2 separate regions of the Homo sapiens genome follow, and region 1 is linked to region 2. The links are contacts of gene promoters, found by promoter capture Hi-C in blood cells and fetal thymus (Javierre and others, 2016). All regions are on one chromosome and are shown on one strand. The core of a region is centred on a gene start or on the middle of the fragment in contact, and the rest is flanking DNA. Distances in the headings are between cores, read along the strand shown.

What was found. Contacts are between HindIII fragments. The CHiCAGO score rates a contact against its expected background, and 5 or more counts as called.
Region 1: a fragment that was not itself captured here is called in contact with the fragment with the promoter of ZNF587 in region 2 in 2 of 17 cell types (naive CD8 T cells and erythroblasts); the score reaches 5.7 in naive CD8 T cells.

What each region holds. Positions count from the first base shown.
Region 1 is chr19:57,422,238-57,424,937 of GRCh38, forward strand. No RefSeq gene overlaps it. Among named protein-coding and RNA genes, the nearest start is that of ZNF749, 12 kb to the right of the region's middle. The HindIII fragment of the contact is 1,667 bases long and covers 457-2,123 here.
Region 2 is chr19:57,848,448-57,851,147 of GRCh38, forward strand. ZNF587 (zinc finger protein 587) reads left to right here and starts at 1,412. Exons shown (of 3, transcript NM_032828.4): 1 at 1,412-1,624. The coding sequence starts at 1,592. It overlaps LOC124904782 (a long non-coding RNA gene), which reads right to left. Exons shown (of 2, transcript XR_007067358.1): 2 at 1,868-2,114. RefSeq lists enhancers at 1,010-1,119, 1,190-1,249, 1,420-1,659, 1,710-1,799, 1,854-2,700. The HindIII fragment of the contact is 27,837 bases long and covers 1-2,700 here.

The DNA.
Region 1 (2,700 bases), core at 40-2,539, 430 kb before region 2:
GTGAGTGGTAAGTGAATGTGAAGGCCTAGGTTGTTACTGTGCTGTAGACTTTATAGACATTGTGTACTTAGACGACAATACATTTTTATTTTTATTATTATTTTTGAGACAGAATCTTGCTCTGTTGCCCAGACTAGAGTGCAGTGGTGCAATCTTGGCTTCCTGCAACCTCCTCCACCTCCTGGTTCAAGCAGTTCTGCCTCAGCTTCCCAAGTGTCTGGGATTACAGGCATGCACCACCATGCCCCGCTAATTTTTGTATTTTTAGTAGAGAACGGGGTCTTACCATGTTGGCCAGGCTGGTCTCAAACTCCCGACCTCAAGTGAGCCACTCGCTTTGGCCTCCCAAAGTGCTGGGATTACAGGCATGAGCCACCGTGCCCGGCTGGACAAAATTAAATTTATAGAAATTTTTCTTTAATATATTAACCTTAGCTGACCATTTTTTACTTTATAAGCTTGTATTTTTAAAAACTTTTTGACTTTTGTAATAATGTTTTGCTTAAAACATTGTACAACTGTACAAAAATATTTTTTATATCCTAACTTCTTAAATTTTTTTTGTTAAAAACTAAGATACACACATTTGTCTAGGCCGGCACAGGATCAGGATAATGTCATTTTATTCCACCTTCACAACCTGTTCCAGAAGATCTTCTGGGACAGTAACACACATGGAGCTGTCATCTAAAATAACAATGCCTTTTTCTGGAATACCTCCTGAAGGACCTGCCCGAGGCTGTGTTACAGTTTGTGTGTATGTACACCTGTATATTTATAGACATACACACAACTCCATATATACTCTACTGTTGGAGAACACCTAATGATAAAAAGTGTAGTATGCTAAGAACATAAGCTAGTAACTCGTAAGTTTTATCTACTGTACATTATTGTATATGTTATACTTCTATATGACTGGCCTCACAGTAGGTTTGTTTATACCAGCATCACCATGAATATGTGATTAATATATTGCCTTACTACTGCTATCATGTCATTAGGCAATAAGCATTTTTCAGCTTCATTGTAATTTTATGGAACCACTGTCATGAATGTGGCCCATTGTTGACTGAAAAGTGAGGTGCATGATTATATATGTATGTGCCACTTTTCCTTTCATTAGTGGACATTTGGGTTGTTTCCACTCAGCTGTTGTTAATAGCAGATGAGCATGAATGTACAAATGTTTCTTTGAGGCTGTGCTTTAAATTCCTTTTGAGGATTTACTCAGAAGTAGAATTGGTGCTTTCTATGTTTTTTTTTTGTTTGTTTGTTTGTTTGTTTGTTTTTTGAGACGGGAGTCTCGCTCTGTCGCCAGGCTGGAGTACAGTGGCCTGATCTCAGCTCACTGCAGCCTCTGCCTCCGGGGTTCAAGCAGTTCTCCTGCCTCAGCCTCCCAAGTAGCTGGGACTACAGGCATGCACCACCATGCCCAGATAATTTTTGTATGTTTAGTTGAGACGGGGTTTCACCGTGTTGGCAAGGATGGTCTCAATCTCGACCTCATGATCCACTCACCTGTCCCCCTATGTTCATTTAAAAAATATTTTTAATTTTTTAAATTTCTGACTCACAATGTTCCCATTCTATGTTAATTCTGTTTTAAAATTTTTGAGGACTCTTCTATAGCAGCTGCATCATTTTTTAATTTAACTTTATTATTAATTTTTTTTTTTAGTAGTTTTACTGGGTTGAGTTTTTTTTTTTTCTTTAGGGTTATTTGGTTTTGAGATGTAGGAGTTTTTTAGTATATGTGGGGACTTCAGAAAGTTTGTGGAAACATGAAAGTAAAGGATACAAAAAGAAAACAAGTTTTATTTCTCAACATAAGCTCCATCAAGTTCAAGACAATTTTATAAGTGATGATACCAGGCATTTAGTCCATCCCTAAAGAAGTGAGGTTCCTGGGAATTTAACCTTGTCTATGCAATCTTTTTTAATATTAACTAAAGAAAAATGGGTGCCCTTTAAAGATTTTTTAAAAGTAGGAAACAAGAAGTCAGAAGGAGCCAAATCCGGACTGTAAGGTGGATGCCTTAGGGTTATCAGAATTCTTGTAAAGTTGCAGTTATTTGATGAGAGGAATGAGCAGGAGCATTGAAGTGAAGGACTCCTGGTGAAGCTTTCCCATGGGTTTTCTGCTAAAGCTTTAGCTAACTTTCTCAAAACACTCTCATTGCGGGCGCCGTGGCTCACGTCTGTAATCCCAGCAATTTGGGAGGCCGAGTTGGGCGGATCATCTGAGCTCAGGAGTTTGAGACCAGCCTGACCAACATGGAGAAACCCCCCTCTCTACTAAAAAATACAAAAATTAGCCTGGCGAGGTGGTGCATGCCTGTAATCCCAGCTACTCAGGAGGCTGAGGCAGGAGAATCGCTTGAACCCGGGAGGCGGAGGTGGCAGTGAGCCGAGATCACACCATTGCACTCCAGCCTGGGCAACAAGAGTGAAACTCCATCTCAAATAGTAATTAATAATAAAGCCATGTTTCATCTGTACAATTCTTCAAAGAAATGCTTCAGCATCTTGATCCTACTTGTTTAACATTTACATTGAAGGTTCTGCTCTTGTCTGCAGCTGATCTGGATTCAGTGGCTTTGGCACCCATTGAGTGGAAAGTTCGCACAACTTTAATTTTTCAGTCAGAATTGTGTAAGCTGAACCAATTCAGATGTCTGTGGTGTCAGTTACTGTTTC
Region 2 (2,700 bases), core at 162-2,661:
TCCTGTTGCCCAGGCTGGAGTGCAATGGCATGATCTCGACTCATCGCAACCTCCACCTCCAGGGTTCAAGTAATTCTCCTACCTCAGCCTCCCGAGTAGCTGGAATTGGAGGCATGCAGCACCATGCCTGGAAAATTTTGTACTTTCAGTAGAGACACGGTTTCTCCATGTTGGCCAGGCTGGTCTCGAACTCCCGACCTCAGGTGATCCACCTGCCTTGGCCTCCCAAAGTGCTGGGATTACAGGTGTGAGCCACCATGTCTGGCCTTTATTTTTATTTTTTGTGGGTATATAGTAGTGTATATATTTGTAGATTACATTAGATATTTTGATGTAGCCATGCCATATGTGATAATCACATAGGGTAAATGGGGTCTCAGTCACCTCAACATTTATCCTCTGTATTATAAACAGTCCAGTTATACTCTTTTAGTTATTTTTAAATATATAATTAAATTATTTTGACTATAGCCACCCTGTTATGGTAGCAAATATTAGGTCTTATTCATTTTTGCTCACTGTTTTTTGTACCCATCCTGTCATCATGTCTTATGGAGAATTTTCTTTTGTTCCCAACAAAACAATGAAACTCGCAAAACTGACTGTAATGATTCAGTCTACGTGAATTTAAAGAGCAATCAATACTTAATGTTCTCAGCTCTGAGTGCACACATTGTAAGTCTGAATGATGCCAATGATATGGCCACTTAGATAAGTAAAGTTTGGGAGCATCTCAAATAGTATTTTTATTCTCTGGGTGCAGGATGAGCTTCCTAGAGTCTGATGTGATACCTATTTGATGCTTTTACAAAGAATCAATAATCTTCCTCCTTTGAGGTGTGAGCAGGGCTTTCCAGCAGCCCTCAGAATGTAACATGGTCTGCATTCGGTTTGCTCTTGGAGGATACCACCATTGTTGGCTGAGAGCTCTGGGAAGTACTTTACCCAGAAGGCGCTAGTTGCAAGGCCCAGGATGAGGGATTTCTGGGCATGCTTGTCAGGCCAGGGAGTACTGGGTTGGGACTGAGAAGGCACAAGAGGAGTAGTCATCTCTGCTCCCAAGTGGCAGGTCTGAGGCTCATAGGCACTGGCTGGGGTGATGCCTGCTCCACCCACAGTTGATGGCAGCAGCCACACTGAGGGACCTAGCTCAGGTAAATGCTGTGTATTACAGGCTTCACCCCAGCTAGAGTAATACAGGTAGAGGAACCAATAGGTACAAAGGCTTGGAGGTGCATCTGAGCCATGAACATTTCAGAACCTGGTAACCATGTTGTGTCATGGAAAGTGGGGAACTACATTACCCAGAAAGCTCTGCTTTAAACGACAGCCGGTCAGAGCCAGTGAGCACTCGGAAAGAAGGCATTTCCACGTGTGCACGTAACGTAAGGCCGAGACTTCCGGGGTCTCTAGTAGCGGCTGTGTATCGGCGATGCGGGTGTTTCCCCAGTTTGTGGCCCCTGAGTGCTGGGTGGGACCGCGGTGACTGAACCTAGAAGGTGGAGAGGAATCGTCCTCGGTGCCCAGAGGCGGCTCTGCAGCCCCGTGACGGCGACCACTGCTCCCGGGCCGTGCTTCCCCAAGTAGTCCGATGGCAGCGGCTGTGCCGAGGCGCCCAACTCAGGTAATTGTGGTGCCTTCTGTGCCCTCAGGTCACCCCATCGTCACCCAGGTCCTAAACCAGCGAGGGAGCGGCTCCTGCTCGTGGGTCTGTAGCCGGTACCCGGCGTAGGAACACTGAGGCGCTCACAGGAGGCCTCTCCTTGTAACCGTCCAGTGGGTTCACGTTGCCAGCTGCCTAGACAGAGCCGATTTATGAAGACTGGGGAATTGCGATGGAGAAATAGTAATTCACGCAGAGCCGTCCTGCTGTTCGGGAGACAGGAGTTTTATTATTCAAATCAGTCTCCCTGAGCATTCTGGGATCAGAGTTTTCAAAATTTGGCGGGTAGGGGCTTGGGAAGTGGGGAGTGCTGATCAGTCTGGTTGGAGATGGATTCATAGGGGGTTAAAGTGAGTTTTTCATGCTGTTTTCTGTTCTGGGTGGGATGGCAGAACTGATTGACCCAGATTACCGGTCTGTGTGTTGTCCGCTGATCCATCCAGTGCAGGATCTGCAAAATGCCCCAAGCACTGATCTTAGATATTGGGGAAACCAGCCCCACACCACCCAGCAGATACCCCGAGTCCTGCGGAGACAAAGGAGTTAGAAAGAGACAGAATACGCATTTAAAAGGCGGGTCCAGGTGGCCAGAGCATTGGAGGCTTCCTGGCGGCCCAGAGCTCTTGGGCTCCACCCAGTTTATTGGTTTACAAGCTCTTTGTTCTTATGGCTGATTGGAGGGGGAGGAAGCGATCAGGAAAAGGATTAATCAGTAAAGGAGAACTCGTGAGTCATTCCATAAGATGTAAAGCACTGGCCGTTTCTGTGAATTTCCTTGAACAAAGGCGTGTGTCTAAACTACTTAAGATCTTTAACTTAACTGAAACGGGTGGCTGCGGGTTTCAGGAGGAGCCAAGATGTTTGATTATGCTCCACTGCTTCAAGGGAGTGTGATCTCCCTGAGCAACCCATGGAATGCTGCTGAAGAGTTATGCTCTCGGGGCATAAAGACATGAAGGCAATAAGGAGACTTTTCTCCTCAGAGGCCGCCCATGGCTTCCCATGGGTGTCTCACACAGGGGAGACCAACTCAACTA